Regions from separate parts of the Homo sapiens genome. Here region 1 is linked to region 2. Evidence: promoter capture Hi-C in 16 types of primary human blood cells and fetal thymus (Javierre and others, 2016). All regions are on one chromosome and are shown on one strand. The core of a region is centred on a gene start or on the middle of the fragment in contact, and the rest is flanking DNA. Distances in the headings are between cores, read along the strand shown.

Region 1 (3,974 bases), core at 1,372-3,871, 120 kb before region 2:
AATGTCTTGGGGCTGTCCTTGCAGTAATGAGTAAGTGCTCACTCTATCAGTTCACGTGAGAGCTGGTTGCTTAAAAGATCCTGGCACCAGGCCGGGTGCAGTGGCTCATGCCTGTAATCCCAGCACTTTGAGAGGCTGAGGTGGGCGGATCACCTGAGGGTCAGGAGTTTGAGACCAGCCTGGCCAACATGGTGAAACCCCATCTCTACTAAAAATACAAAATTAGCCGGGTGTGGTGGCGCATGCCTGTGATCCCGGCTACTTGGCAGGCTGAGACAAGAGAATTGCTTGAACCCGGGAGGTGGAGGTTTCAGTGAGCTGAGATCACACCATTGCACTCCAGCCTGGGCAACAAGAGCGAAACTCCGTCTCAAGGAAAAAAAAAGAGCTTGGCACCTTTTCCTTCCTCTCTTGCTCCCTGTGCTTGCTCCCCCTTCACCTTTCACCATGAGTACAAGCACCTGAGGCCCTCACCAGACGCACATGCTGGCACCATGCTTATACAGCCCGCAGAACCATGAGCCAAATAAACCTCTTTTCTTCATGCATTAACCTCAGTTATTCCCCTTTATAGCAATGCAAAATGGACTAACACAAATAGATGACATATTTGAGGGTCAGAGAGTTTGCACACTTTTCCAAGGGCACACACACAGTAAATGGCAGAAGTGGGACTTGAACCCTACCTTTATAAGCCAGGCCCAGTGCTCCAATATGGGACCATTGGCAACTCAGTAAACTTTTGTGTGAGAGTGTTCAGTTGGAAGGTTAATTCTTGTTTGCCATAGAAAGAGAGAACAAGACTGACAGTGGAAGTCATTGTCACTATTGCCATCAAATATAATATTATCAGCAGCCCAAGAATGTCCACTTTTTAACAGAGCTAGGCTATTTTTTCAAAACCAGAATTTCTGTTTTGGATGAAGAAGCACAATAGTAAAAAAATCAGAGGCTGGGTGTGGTGGCTCAAGCCTGTAATCCCAGCACTTTGGGAGGCTGAGACGGGCAGATCGTTTGAGGTCAGGAGTTCAAGACTAGCTGGGCCAACATGGTGAAACCCTGCTGCTACTAAAAATACCAAAAAAAAAAAAAAAAAAAAAAATGAGCTGGGCATGGTGGCGTGCACCTGTAATCCCAGCTACTTGGGAGGCTGAGGCACGAGAATCGTTTGAACCTAGGAGGCGGAGGTTGCAGTGAGCTGAGATCGTGCCACTGCACTCCATCCTGGGTGACAGAGTGAGACCCTGTCTCAAATAAATAAATAAATAAATAAAATCAGGCAGGGCGAGGTGGCTCACACCTGTAATCCTAGTACTTTGGGAGGCCAAAGTGGGTGGATCGCTTGAGCCCAGGAGTTCGAGGCCAGCCTGGATACCCCGTTTCTACAAAAAATTAAAAAATTAGCCAGATGTGGTGGCACATGTCTGTGGTCTCTGCTACTCAGAAGGCTGAGGTGGAAGAATTGCCTGAATCCTGCGAGGTCGAGGCTGCAGTGAGCTGTGATTGTGCCACTGGGTTCCAGCCTGGGGAGCAGAGTGAGACCGTGTTTCCCCCCAAATCAAATTTTAGCCAGTTTTTATCAAGAAAAATAGATCTTCCTATTGGCTTATCAAAGTTCTTTAGAGACAAGTAATACAGGTGAACCTGGGCTCACATAAACAGAAAGGAAGGAATAAAATCAGATCCTCTCAAGGAAACAAGGGGCAGTAATGCGGATAGAAATGGGTAGGATTTTTTTTTCTCTCTAGCTCTTGTCTTTGCTTTTCTCTGAAGCATGTGCTTCATTCTTCTCTCTTTCTCAATTCAGACACACTTTCTCTGCTTCTCTGGCCACTCCAGTGTTTCCAGAGGTTGAGGCACCAGCCTGGACAAACTGAGCAGCTTCCTGGTCCCAATTCTCAATTTCCCAGGGGAGAGGACCTGAGGCCACCTTGGAGCAGGTGTTCGCCTCTGGTCCAGTCAGCAATAGGCAAGAGCAGAGGGTATCCTGTAATATCAGCATGGCTGCCAGGGCCCTACCCCAGTGCACCTGGTGGCAGTTCCCAGAGAATGAGGAATTGTGAGTTTTGCCCACACCTGAAAAAGTGTTGACCATAACTGAGCAGCGGGAAAATTGTTATAAAGTTTGGAATTAGCCAGTAGGCAATAGTTTTGTTAGGGCATAATTTTCACAACTGCTTTTCAAGAGTTCAGAAACTCTTAAATATAAACTTTAGTATCATGTGTCTGCTTGTATGTTTAAATCCGGGAACATCTTTACAGACCACCTAATCCAACCCTCCTTTATTTAAACCAGTGATGAAACTGGGACTTGGTGGGCAAAGTGACATGCCCAAGGTCACACAGCAAATTAGCTGAAAAGATGAACGGATGAAATTGTTTCTTTCTCTCTCTCTCTCTCTTTTCTTCTGAGATAGCATCTCACTCTGTTGTGCAGGCTGAGTGCAGTGATATGATTTTGGCTCACAGCAGCCTCAACCTTCCAGGCTCAAGCTATCCTTCTGCTTTAGCCTCCCAAGTTGCTGGGACTACAGGCACATGCCACCACACCCAGCTAATTTTAAAAAATGTTTTGTGAGCTGGGCGTGGTGGCTCACACCTGCAATCCCAGCATTTTGGGAGGCCAAGGCGGGTGGATCACCTGAGGTCAGGAATTCGAGATCAGCCTGGAGGCAAAACCCCATCTCTACTAAAAATACAAAAAAAAAGTTAGCTGGGCATGGTGGCACACGCCTGTAATCCCAGCTGCTTGGGAGGCTGAGGCAGGAGAATCACTTGAACCCAAGAGGTGGAGGTTGCAGTAAGCCAAGATTGCACCATTTCACTCCAGCCTGTGTGACAGAGCAAGACTGCCTCAAAAAAAAAAAAAAAAATTTGTGGAGATGGCTCACTATGTTGCCCGGGGTGGTCTCAAACTCCTGGACACAAGTGATCCTCCTGCTTCGGCCTCCCAAAGTGCTGGGATTACAGGCATGAGCCACCACGCCCAGCCAAACAGATGAAATTAGAACATGTATCTGACTGTGTTCTTATTACTGTACCAAGTTTCTCCACGTAACCTAGAAGTATCAATCAGCACTGAGTCCAAGAAGCAGAACTGCTAAGTGTGATGTAGATAGAACAAGATATTTCTTGTAGGGATTCAACTCCAGAGAGCCATAAAGCCGTCTCAGTCCAGCTGTTTCTCCTGTGCCTGGCGCCAAGCTGGAAGTCACAGGGCAGGGGCTGGGAAGAAAGGGGAACACAAATTGGGAGAGAGGCAGGCAGCTGGACTTCTGTCTGTCTCTCACTGGCGTCCATGTCAGCCCCTTCCCATCTCAGAGCCTCCAACTCCGGGCCCGCAGACTATCTGCAGGAGAAGCTGCTGTCTTGCCCAGAGCCATACTTGCACCTGGCTCGGGATTCAGAAAAGCTGAAGGAAGTGATCCCATGGGAGCTGGGGCTTTAGGCCAGATTGCTTCCCACACCAACAATGGACCCATTGCATCCGCTAAAACCTGACCCACCTGGGCCTTCTGAGACAAAAACACAGGTGCTGCTGAGTTTCCATCATCCAAATCTCATGCAAATTCCTCCTGTGGCCAACCCTAACCAGAAACATATAAGAAAGGGAATGACAGGAGTCTAGTTCAGCCTAGCTGAGTTGGCACCGCAAAGCCACCCCTCACAAAACTGACTCTGTGTGGGTGGCGGCGGTGCTACCTTCCATTTCCAGTGCTGGGACTGTGGCTGCTCCTTGCCTAACCCCTTCCTGGAGTCCAGCCACCTCTTCCCAACTCCCTTGTCCCTGCTCACACCAGCACAGGGGCTGTCAGCAAGTAAATCTGTGGCTTAAGTCAATGTCCAACCGGGAAATGAGATGCCCAAACAACAGCCTCTTGTGGGCACCCTCATTTCCTGTAAACTATTCTCTGAGAAGCACCTTATCTTCACTGGGGTTCACGGAAGGGAAGCATTTCTTTCCTTGGTGGATG
Region 2 (3,576 bases), core at 76-2,575:
TTATACCTTTGTAGCAGTCAAATCTAAGAGTTTAACACGGTGGCTCCACGTTGTAATCCCATCAGTTTGGGAGGCCAAAAGCAGGAGGATCACTTGAGGCCAGGAGCTCGAGCTCAGCCTGAGCAACAAAGTGAGACCCTCATTTTTCTAAAAAAAAAAAAAACCAAAAAACCATAAGCTTAAATGATCGAGTATTGGAAACGCTTTCTAAGGCCCTGGAAAAATAGAAGTTTTCTTAATAATAATGTTAGCTTCCATGTATTGTAAACCTAAACGAAGCAAGAATAAATGCTGGGTGCTGTATATAGCTCTATCAACCTATAATCACCTCGAAAACTCGAGGAGACACATTCAGCTGCTCCCATTTCACGGATGAGGAAACAAGTACGCAATCCTGAAGCTGGTGCAAAGCCCAGGCCCCCTTTCTTTTTCAAGCGTGCTTCCAGCCTCTGAAGTTCCTCCGTACGGACCCCCAGCTCTGCCTGCAATAAGGAATATTCACTTTGCCAACAAATATTTATTGAGTGCCTGCTATATACCCCTTAGCCCGTTTAAATAGCCGTGGGATTAAAAAGATAAATAGGGCAGGATTTTTTTTTTTCTTCCAGGAAGGAGCTTTCTGAAGGGTGAGGGAGAGGCCAGGTAAACAATCCCAGAACAGTCTGGTGAGAGTTGGGAGAGGAGTCGGGGGGCCGCGGGACGCTCAGGAAGCGAAGCGGGGAAGGCTCCGGGCGCGTCGCAGGACCCGCGCTGGAGATGGGTTTGAAGCCCTGTCCTGAAAAAGCCGGCCCGGAGTGGGCTGTCCCCGGTGTCCCTCGAGTTCTCATGCTGTCATTCAAGCAGCAGAGGAAGAACCGGGTCTGGCTCGGGAAGGGTGGGCTTAGGGCCAGGGGTGCAAATCCCTCGGTAAAAGCCGGCAAACTAAAAGTCGCACACATCCCAGGTCCCGGTCCAGGCCCCGGCGGGGCAGGGTCCCCGAAGTCCCGGGGCGCGCAGACGCCGGGGCCCCCGGGGGCCAAGGGAACGGCGGGACCCGACCTCCCTGCCCTCGGCCTCCCGGGCCCTCGCCCTCCGACCAGCCGCTGAGTCGGGGGCTGGGGTCGCCGCTTCCGCCCGCGGCCCGCTGCCCCTCCCCGGCGCGCGCCATCCGGCCGCCGGCCCCTCCTCCCGCGGGGGGCTCCGTCCCGCGCCCCGTCCCTCCGGGCTGCAGCCGGCAGCCCACGTCCAGGGAGGGCGGAGGGAGGAGGAGAGGCGCGGAGAGGAGGGAGGGGAGAGGGGAGGGAGGAAGGCGAGAGAAAGGGAGCTGCTTCCATCCCGGACTTCCCAGAGCCTGCCTGGAGCGCGTACTCAGCGGCTCTCGGGTCCCAGCGTCCCAGCCGCGGCCCGCGCTCCTCCGCCCCGCTCCTCCTCCTCCTCTTCCTCCTCCTCCTCCTCTCTAGGCACCCCCGTCCCCTCCTTCCAGCGGCTGCAGCCCCCAGCCCCAACTCTCCGCGCTTACTCCTGGGACGCGCGTCCTCGCCCCATCCTTTGCTTCCTTCCTTCCTTCCTTCTTCCTTCCTCCCCTGGCTCCCGCCCTCCCTCTCCAGGTCGCCCTCCCGGGGCCCGATTGTCTCGGTGCCCCGCTCCCGGCCCGCGCCCTGCCCCGTCTCTCCCTTGCACTTCCTGAGTCGCCCGCCGCCGCCGTCGCAGACTCGCCGCGGGAGCCCCAGCCCAACCCGAGCCCGACAGCCACTGCCCCGGCTCCAGCTCCAGCCCCACAGCCCGCGGCGCCCGCCCGAGGGAGCCCCGGCGCCCGGGGAAGGCTCCAGTGGGCTAGCGCGCCCTCGCCCAGCCCCGCGCCCCAGCCCTGCCCGGCCCGGCGAGGAAGGACCGGGAAGATGAACAACGGCGGCAAAGCCGAGAAGGAGAACACCCCGAGCGAGGCCAACCTTCAGGAGGAGGAGGTACTGGGCGGCTCGGTGTGGTGGCGGGGGCGACGCGGGACCCAGTGCGGGCGGCCGGCGGGGCGCGGGCCCGGGGCGCGGCGGTGGAAGAAGGTTCAGGCATGGCCCGTGCCCCGGACGCAGCCCCACAGTGTGGCCCGGGGAGGGTGGATCTCGGGAGCGTGTGTTTTTGTGTCCACGCGCGTCTGCGGGCCCCAAATTGCGTAACTCCAAGGACTTTTCGGAGACTTTTGTAAGTATAATGCTCAGCTTTGTTTGCCCGGGATTTATAAGTGGAACCGAGAGCTGACTCCTGGGTGACCTCAGATAATCGGGACTCGGAGGGTCAGGACTTAGGGCCGGGGCTGGAAATTGTGTATGGATTCAGGGTCGGGGGGGGAGCAGTTTAAGGAAGAAACTCGGGGGAAAGTTCTCGTTAAAAGATACCTCTATTCCCTGCCCCCTCCCTTTCCGTGTTAAAAGTTCTTGGTGAAATATCTTTCTAGCCGAGGTTTTTTGGATTAATAGATAACTCATCAGCCACATTCTTCTCTGCTGAGTCAAAGACCCCGAGCCTGGGCGGTGAACGCTTGTGATTTTAGGGGCCGTGCAGCTGAGGGGAGCAGAGTAAGAGGGTTAAAAACGCAGCAATTCACCAAATGCTCATCGAGGGTATTTTCATAGGACTTTGACTTCTGAGCATGCATTTTAGGTGGTGCGTCCGTAATCATGATGAAAGTTTTGTGACTGCGGAGCGTTCCTTCGGTGGAAACAAAATTGAGTAGATGTGGTCAGAAGGGGAGTCGGACTCAGGAACAAACGTTTCAGAATTCAGTAGGATATTTGTGGTATCCTACCAAATGACTCTTTTTGCAGGTACGTTATCTGGAGTCCAAGAAATTATTTCTGGCGTACTTCTTAACATCCCACACAGTTGAGTTCTTAAACATTCTAGAGGAACTTGAGAGTGTGTGTAGATGCAGGAAAGTGCACGTCTAAATATGACCCGAAAAGATTCACACAGGTATTGGATCCTGATATAGGTGAACACAGAAGGTAAACGGATTCTAAAGCGTTAGAATGTTGAGATCATTGTTGAGACACTATGTTGTGTGCAAACTTCAATTCTGATAGTGAAACCAAAATTGCAGAGGAATTCATTAATACATACAACTTCTCTGCACATTGTCCACTTGGAAAATGGTAACTATTTAGATGGAGAAGGTAGAGGAGCGAGACTATGCCAAACAATGCAAAATAAATAGGAGATTTTACTCGTCACCCAGTTGTATGGTAGTGAAAACCTAAATGAATTGCAGTCAGCCAAAAATTGCTTTTTCACCCGAGGACATTTTCTATTTTATTATAAAAGACTATTTGAAGAGTTGTTTACTTGCATGTTTTCTAATTACAATTGTAGGAATGCTACTGGCATTTCTTTTTTCAAAGCGATGGAGAGTTGAATGGTGTGTTCTGATTTTTTTTCTTGAACTTTACTGGCTGCTTTGCTATTTATTTTCCCTACCACTTAAAAAAATTTAAAAATAATGACAAGTGTGCTTTTTTAGGAATTACCATATTTAACTAATTCACTTACCATATCAAGATAATCATCGCTTCAGAAATCTTTCTGTTTCAGCTAGATGTGCAATCT

The links. The method cuts DNA at HindIII sites, captures the fragments that hold promoters and counts their contacts. A CHiCAGO score of 5 or more calls a contact.
Region 1: a fragment that was not itself captured here is called in contact with the fragment with the promoter of RBPMS in region 2 in 2 of 17 cell types (M1 macrophages and M2 macrophages); the score reaches 5.3 in M1 macrophages.

What each region holds. Positions count from the first base shown.
Region 1 is chr8:30,264,994-30,268,967 of GRCh38, forward strand. No RefSeq gene overlaps it. Among named protein-coding and RNA genes, the nearest start is that of DCTN6-DT, 110 kb to the left of the region's middle. RefSeq lists an enhancer at 186-685. The HindIII fragment of the contact is 6,409 bases long and covers 1-3,974 here.
Region 2 is chr8:30,383,216-30,386,791 of GRCh38, forward strand. It overlaps RBPMS (RNA binding protein, mRNA processing factor), which reads left to right and starts at 1,326. Exons shown (of 9, transcript NM_001008710.3): 1 at 1,326-1,943. The coding sequence starts at 1,878. It overlaps RBPMS-AS1 (RBPMS antisense RNA 1), which reads right to left and starts at 2,186. Exons shown (of 3, transcript NR_046205.1): 1 at 1,929-2,186; 2 at 329-482. RefSeq lists enhancers at 1,113-1,783, 1,784-2,455. The HindIII fragment of the contact is 8,815 bases long and covers 177-3,576 here.